2 separate regions of the Homo sapiens genome follow, and region 2 is linked to region 1. The links are contacts of gene promoters, found by promoter capture Hi-C in blood cells and fetal thymus (Javierre and others, 2016). All regions are on one chromosome and are shown on one strand. Each heading gives the region's core, a stretch centred on a gene start or on the middle of the fragment in contact. The rest is flanking DNA. Distances are from core to core; before and after follow the strand shown. Region 1 holds the start of LSR (lipolysis stimulated lipoprotein receptor). Region 2 overlaps HAUS5-DT (HAUS5 divergent transcript).

The links. The method cuts DNA at HindIII sites, captures the fragments that hold promoters and counts their contacts. A CHiCAGO score of 5 or more calls a contact.
Region 2: a contact is called between a fragment that was not itself captured here and the fragment with the promoter of LSR in region 1, in 1 of 17 cell types (naive B cells). The highest score is 5.3, in naive B cells.

What each region holds. Positions count from the first base shown.
Region 1 is chr19:35,246,258-35,250,273 of GRCh38, forward strand. LSR (lipolysis stimulated lipoprotein receptor) reads left to right here and starts at 2,745. Exons shown (of 10, transcript NM_205834.4): 1 at 2,745-2,874. The coding sequence starts at 2,766. RefSeq lists enhancers at 1,329-1,498, 1,632-2,434, 2,435-3,236 and silencers at 2,349-2,428, 2,839-2,908. The HindIII fragment of the contact is 9,039 bases long and covers 1-4,016 here.
Region 2 is chr19:35,604,709-35,608,724 of GRCh38, forward strand. HAUS5-DT (HAUS5 divergent transcript) reads right to left here. Exons shown (of 2, transcript NR_186318.1): 2 at 3,681-4,016. Among named protein-coding and RNA genes, the nearest start is that of HAUS5-DT, 5.9 kb to the right of the region's middle. The HindIII fragment of the contact is 3,634 bases long and covers 416-4,016 here.

The DNA of each region.
Region 1 (4,016 bases), core at 1,495-3,994:
TGGGCGACAAAGTGAGACTCAGTCTCAAAAAATAAAATGAAATAAAATAAAGTGGCTCAAAGACTCAATTTAAGAGTTAAAACTATAAAACTCTTAGAAGAAAATATTGTTGAAAATCTTCATCACATTGGACTTGGCAACAACTGCATAAATAGGATACCAAAAGTACAAGGAAGAAAAAATAGTAGGTAAATTGAACTTCATCAAATTAAGAACTTTTGTGCACCAAAGGACACTATCAAGAAAGTGAAAAAACCTGGAGAATGGAAGAAAATATTTGCAGATCATATATCTAACAAGGGATTAATATTCAAAATATATATAGAACTCCTACAACTTGACAACAAAAAAACAAACAACCCAATTCAAAAATGGGCAAAGTACTTGAATAGACACTTCTCCAAAGAAGATATACTAATGGACAATAAATTCGTGGAAATATGCTCAACATCGTTAGTCATTGGGGAAATGCAGATTACAACCACAATGAGATGCCACTTCACACTAACCAGGATGGCCATAATCAAGAAAATGGATAATAAGTTTTGGTGGGGATGTGGAGAAATTGGAATCCTCCGTGCATTGCTGGTGGGAATGTACAATAGTGCAGTCATTGGGGAAAACAGTTTGGCAGTTCCTCAAAAGGTTAAAAATAGAACTACCAAGTCACCCAGCAATTCCATTCTTAGGCATATATTCAAAAGAAATGAAAGCAGATATTTGTACACCAGTGTTCACAGCTGCACTATTTACAATAGTCAAAAGGTAGAAACAACCTAGGTCCATCCACAAATGAATGGATAAATAAAACGTAGCATATACATACAATGGTACACTAGTCCGCTGTAAAAAGAAATTTTGATCTTACTGCATGCTACATGGCTTCGACATACTACAACATGGATGGACCTTGAAAACATTATTCTTTGTGAAATAAACTAGACACAGGACAAATGTTAGACGATTCCACTTATATGAGGCACCTAGAATGGGCAATTTGGTAAGCAAAGTAGAATAGAAATTACTAGGGGCACAGGTAGCAGGGAATGGGGAGTTACTGTTTAATGGTCACAGAGTTTATGTTGGGGATGATGAAACAGTTTCGGGGATAAAGAGTGGTGATTGGTACACGACATTGTGAATATACTTAATGCCACTGAATTTTACACTTGAAGTGGTTAAAGCGATAAATATTATAGTTTGCATATTTTATCATAAAAATATTTTTTTAAACGATGAAGGGACGTGAACGGGTTGAAATTTTATAAAAAGTGGCCAGGGAAGGTGTCACTGCAATGGTGTCCTACAGGAGGAGGAAGATCATGTGGACATCTGCGGGAAGGGTGTTCTGGCAGAGGGAGTAGCACGGGCGATGGCTCTGAGGACTGTGAGAAGTATAGTTGGAAACAGCGAGGAGGCCAGGGTGTCCGAAGCTGAGTAAGCCAGAGAGAGTGGGAGGAGGTGAGATAAGAGGGGGAAGGTCAGTTTCTGCTGAGAGTGAGGAGGAGCCACAGGAGGGCTGTGAGCAGGTGGACGTGATCTGGCTTGAGTTTTAACAGGGCCAGTAGAACAAAGCACGCCTGGGTACCGAAACCAGCCACTGGCCAGTTGGCAACCTGGGGGAGTCTAACGCGAGGAAGCGCCCAGGGTTCCCCCAGGATGCGCTTTCCCTCGCCGCCACCTGGAGACAGCAGAGTCACGCCCAGCGCTGCGCAGGCTGATCGCCGCGCCGCGCCCCCGCCCTCGGTCGCAGGTGGCTCGTTCCGGGAATTCCTAAGCGGAAACCGGTCCCAAGCCCCGCGCCTTCGCTCGGCCCCTTTAAGAGCCAGAATTTCCGGAGGGCTGACCCGGGGGCTAGGGATGCCCAGGGGCCGAACCACAAGTTGGGAACGGGTGGGGGAGGTGGCGAAAACTTCCGAAGTGGAATTCCAACTTTTCCTGGCCCTGATTCCCCTTGGGCATCCCTGAGGGGGCAGAGCTTCCCTTCCGGGGACTTTAGAGGGTTCCTCAGGTCATCTAACTGGGAGACACAGGAGGCCCGAAGCGCCCCCCCTCCACCCGGTCCGGAGGAACCCCAGTGGAAGTGGAGAAGTCAGGCGCCACCAACAAGCCTCTCCCAGCCAGGACTTTGCTTAGACTCGCTCCTCCCGGCAGGGCGCACCTAGGCGGGTCCATCGCCAGCCGGGGAGAGGGGTTTGGGCAGGGAGGGAACAGGTGCGCGGCGGGACCCGCCCTATCTCAACAGGTGAATCGCTCCAAGTGGGTCTCGGTTGCATGGATCTCGGTGCGCTTGGTTTGGCCGGAGCAGATGGGGGCCGGAAGGGACCTGTGGTCCGCAGGCGCCCTCCCAGCGGGCCAGTCACTTGGTTCGGGCCCTGGGGGACGGAGCGCACCTGGGTCAGCCCACTTCCGGGGAGGGAGGCAGAGGAACCCCTCCCCGCCGCTCACCCCTAAGCCCAGCCCTCGGCTCCCACCCTTGTGTACCTGGGCCGAACCATTCACCGGAGCGCGCAGCGGGTGGAGTGTGGCTCGGAGGACCGCGGCGGGTCAAGCACCTTTCTCCCCCATATCTGAAAGCATGCCCTTTGTCCACGTCGTTTACGCTCATTAAAACTTCCAGAATGCAACAGGACGGACTTGGAGTAGGGACAAGGAACGGAAGTGGGAAGGGGAGGAGCGTGCACCCCTCCTGGCCTTGGTGCGCGCCGCGCCCCCTAAGGTACTTTGGAAGGGACGCGCGGGCCAGACGCGCCCAGACGGCCGCGATGGCGCTGTTGGCCGGCGGGCTCTCCAGAGGGCTGGGCTCCCACCCGGCCGCCGCAGGCCGGGACGCGGTCGTCTTCGTGTGGCTTCTGCTTAGCACCTGGTGCACAGGTACGGGGCACGGGGCCTCTGACGCTGCGGAACGCCGGAGGGAACTGTAGAGGGGGATGGATGGAGTTGGAGGCGGCGGGAAGCGGGAAGCGGGGGTCTCAGAGGCTGGGACCTTCCGATCCCCTGGGTCTTGGGCGATCTGTTGCGCGCGGGAGTGAGAGGAATTCCCCATTTGTGCCGGGGAGCGCTCCCCGCGCCCTTATCTGGAAGATAGCAGGAAGTGAAACTCCCTGGACGGTGAGACCCGGAGCGGCAGGGAGAATGGAACTCTTTGTGGGGAGGGAGTGGAAGACCGCCCGATCTCTGGGAAAAGAAAAGCCGGGATGGGACTTGGGCGCACCCGGGGATTTCTAAGTTTTGGAGTAACGGGGAGAGGGCACGGGAGGGCTGGATCAGACGCTTCCTAGAGGGACAGAGACGAAGGAACAATGCCTAGGCCTCGGGTGGGTGTGGGACTGGGGACTCCCCATCCCCCGCACCCCACCCACCTCCCGCGGGCTCCGGATTATACGTGCGTAAGAGTCTGGTGGGATGGATTTACGGACTTGAAACCGACTTCTGCTGGCAGGCTTTCACCTGGATGGGATATTTGGGTGGTGATGAGGTCTTTCCCGAGACACTTTTGGTTCAGTCATTTGAAATGACTTTAGAGTAGGGTGAGGTGGTGGGAGGCTGATGGAGATATTGTGGGGGCTTTAGTCCCTCCATGGCAAAGCAGTTCAGGCAAACAACTCCATGGTTTTCCCTCCAAATTCAAAAGGCCCCGGGTAACCTGGAATCCTTCGTAGTCGGTTTTGAAGTGGGGCCTTGGGCGCTGGGGGCATCAACATGGCCATCTGGGCTTGCCTGCCCAGGCCACACAGAGGCCCCTTGTTGTGGGTGAATGGCAAAGGGAAGAGGGGACTGGTGTGGTTCAGAGGCCACAGGCTGGGAAGAGGGATGGCGGGCGAGTCCAAGGAAACTGGCCGTGTCACCGTGCACCTGCCACTTCAGCCCCACGGGTCTATAAAATGGGCATGATTATCGTGGCTACCTCACTGGTCCTGGCAATTAAGGAACAATGTGTGCCAGGCACTCTGTAAACCACATACTTGCGAGTGTCAAGCTGGTGACAGGTGGCGTTCCTGTTGAAGCACCTCCCT
Region 2 (4,016 bases), core at 983-3,482, 360 kb after region 1:
CTTGTGACATTCCTTCTCCTGGACAATAAGTCTCCGGAGCTCCCCACCGAGCACCTTGTGACCCCCGCCCCTGCCTGCAAGAGAACAACCCCCTTTAACTGTAATTTTCCACTACCTACCCAAATCCTATAAAACTGCCTCACTCCTATCTCCCTTTGCTGACTCCTTTTTCGGACTCAGTCCGCCTGCACCCAGGTGATTAAAAAGCTTTTACTGCTCACACAAAGCCTGTTTGATGGTCTCTTCACACGGACGCACGTGACAAAAATAAAATCCTAAGTCCGCCAACTGGCTGAATGAACACTGTCTTGGCCAAGGGGCCTACAGAGAAACACTAAAAGCTGAGTTCCTAGCCGTGACTGAACGGGTGGTCGGGCACACCTCATTCTACCTCCTCCCTTGCTGACTGCCATGAAGCTTTCTTCCCTAAGGGTTAAACAGAAACCAGCCCTATTGAAAGACTCATTCACTGCTAATTTCAACCAATGGCCTGAAATACATGGCTGCTCCTCCCTTTTGTGGTTTCAACATAACAACTGACCAGCATTCCTTCCTGATCAGAGGCCACCTAACCACGGGGTGTGGCTCTGGCCAGTCTACAGAGGCTGCACACAAAGGGCCTTTGTGTCCTCTGCATCACCTTTTGATGTATAGGGCCTAATTGTAATACATTTAAGTGTTAAGTCTCCACTCCAAAGTGAACATGGGGCCTGGCACGGTGGCTCACGCCTGTAATCCCAGCACTTTGGGAGGCCAAGGTGGGCGGATCACCTGAGGTCAGGAGTTTGAGACCAGCCTGGCCAACATGGTGAAACCCTGTCTCTACTAAAAATAAAAAAATTAGCCAGGCATGGTGATGGGTGCCTGTAATCCCAGCTACTCATGAGGCTGAGGCAGGAGAATTGCTTGAACCCTGGGAAAGAGAGGTTGCAGTGAGCTGAGATCGCACCACTACACTACAGCCTGGGTGACAGAGTAAGACTCCATCTCAAAAAAAAAAAAAAAAAAAAAAAAAAGTGAATATGGGATGTTACTACACATGTGCTGTACCTTCCCTTCATGAATATTCATAGCTCCTCCTATAACCTGTTGAATATGTATACTGAGCCAAGCCATTCAGCGTTAACTCTGACCTTATCCTTCCCTTACTGGAGGTGCCTGCTCTCAGCTTCTACCGGAGGCTACACTTCTCGGCCTGTGAGATGGCCCGGCTGCAGGCTGCAACTCTTTATGAGAAATAAAGCTCTCCTTTCCAAATTTGTAAACCTGTATTAGTCTGTTCTCACGCTGCTGAAAAGAACTGCCCAAGACTGGGTAATTTATAAAGGAAAGAGGTTTAATTGACTCACAGTTCCGCAGGGTTGGGGAGGCCTCAGGGAACTTAAAATCATGGTGGAAAAGAAAGCAAAAACGTCCTTCCTCAGATGGCAGCAGGAAGGAGAAGTGCCAAGCAAAGAGGGAAAAGCCCCTTATAAAACCATCAGATCTCGTGAGAACTCACTATCTCAAGAACAGCAGCATGGGGGTAACCACCCCCATGATTCGATTACCTCCCACTAGGTCCCTCCCACAACACATGGGGATTTGGGGAACTACAATTCAAGATGAGATTTGGGTGGGGACAGCCAAACCATATCAAAACCTCATGATTCTTCAGTTGACATCTAATCTGAGCTACCATGGTCTATCAAAAAACCACAGCTCTTGAGGGGATCTCAATGGCTGTTAACAAACTGGTTAGAGTTCTGGTCAGGTTCTGATTGTAGAGAGCCTCTGTAACAGATATGGATTGCCTCCTTCCCCCCACCCTCCTTGTTATTTTTATTTCATTTTATTAAATTTTTTTTTGAGACAGGGTCACACTATGTCACCCAGACTGGAATGCAGTGGCACAATCTCAGCTCACTGCAACTTCTGGCTCCCAGGTTCAAGTGATTCTCATGCCTCAGCCTCCTGAGTAGCTAGGACTACAGGTGCATGCCACCATGCCCAGCAAATTTTTATATTTTTTGTAGAGACAGGGTTTTGCCATGCTGCCCAGACTGGTCTCAAACTCCTGAGCTCAACCAATCTGTCTGCCTTGGCCTCCCAAAGTGCTGGGATTATAGGCGTGAGCCACTGTTCCCAGCCATGATTTTTATTTAACAAATACTCATTATTTAACAAATACTTTCTGAGCACCTACTGTGTCCCAGGCATTGTCTTGGGAACGAGGAACACAACGGAGCAAGAGAAGTAAGGCCAACTTCTTCTCTGATGGAGCTTACATTCTAGTGGGAAAGAAAACTATAAACAAGTATACCCAAAAATAAACAAGATAATTACAGGGAATGGTAAATGCTATAGAGAAAAATAAAACAGAATAAGAAGCTAAAGTGGTGCCAGGACTGGTCCAGCAACTATTATGGTGTTGGGAGCAAGCCCCCCAAAATATGGCCATAAACTGACCCCAAGACTGGCCACAAACAAAATCTCCACAGCACTGTGACATGTTCATAATGGCCCTAACGCCCAAGCTGGAAGGTTGTGGGTTTACGGGAATGAGGGCAAGGAACACCTGGCCCGCCCAGAGTGGAAAACCACTTAAAGGCATTCTTAAGCCACAAACAATAGCATGAGCGATGTGTGTCTTAAGGACGTGTTCCTGCTGCAGTTAACTAGCCCAACCTATTCCTTTAATTCGGCCCATCCCTTCGTTTCCCATAAGGGATACTTTTAATTTAATATCTATAGAAACAATGCTAATGACTGGTTTGCTGTTACTAAATATGTGGGTAAATCTCTGTTCGGGGCTCTCAGCTCTGAAGGCTGTGAGACCCCTGATTTCCCACTTCACACCTCTATATTTCTGTGTGTGTGTGTTTAATTCCTCTAGCACCAGTGGGTTAGGGTCTCCCCAACCGAGCTGGTGTCTGCAATGGTGTGCCACCAGATAAGTACGGAAATTGCCAGCAAGTGTTTAGAAACACAGCAATTTGACATATCCATGACATCCAAGTATAGGATCAATGGATTTTCTTGTTGAACAGGGTAGAGACCAAAAGGATTGGTCCATGACAGGTTGGAAACATCAAACAAATGATCCTTCTCCATAGTTACAAGTAGTTTGAGATACACTGAGCTAGTGGGCAATGATGTCTACAAGGTATATTATTTAGAGTCATGCTAGCTGCTATAACAAATAAACCCCACCATTTCAGTAGCTCACAAAATAAAAGTTCTTTTTTTTTTTTTTTTTGAGACGGAGTTTCACTTTTGTTGCCCAGGCTGGAGTGCAATGGCACGATCTCAGCTCACAACAACCTCTGCCCCCTGGGTTCAAGCGATTCTCCTGCCCCAGCCTCCCAAGTAGCTGAGATTACAGGCATGCACCACCACACCCGGCTGATTTTTTTGTATTTTTAGTAGAGACGGGGTTTCTCCATGTTGGTCAGGCTAGTCTCAAACTCCTAACCTCAGGTGATCCACCTGCCTCAGCCTCCCAAAGTGCTGGGATTACAGGCATGAGCCATCACGCCCAGCCAGAAGCTCATTTCTTACTGTTCCTTTGAGCACATTCCAGCATCAGGGTCTTTCCACTTGCTGTTCCCACTTTGGGAACTCCATTTTCACAGTTTTCAAGTAGCTCTCACACTTTGGCTCTCACGTCTCAGCTCAAAGAACATCTTAGAAAGGCCTTCTGTGGCAGAGCCAGCAGGATGTTTATTGACTGCCTAGACCAGGACTACATTTCCCAGAGGCCCTTGCAGCTAGTTGAAGCCATAAGACAAGTTATGTTCAATGGACTGAGAGCAGAAGTGATGTATGTCACTTTAGGGTGAAGACTTTCAAGAAGCAGGTGCGAGTTCCTTATTCTCTCTTCTGCCTGGATTCAAAAGACTCTGAGCCCATAGAAGATGGTTGAATCACCTTATGGAAGAAGCCTGGATCCCTGAATTACTATGTGGATCAGGAGAAATGTCTGATGGGATGTTCTATGAGTAAGAAATGAGAAGACTCTTCTCAAACGTGGAAGG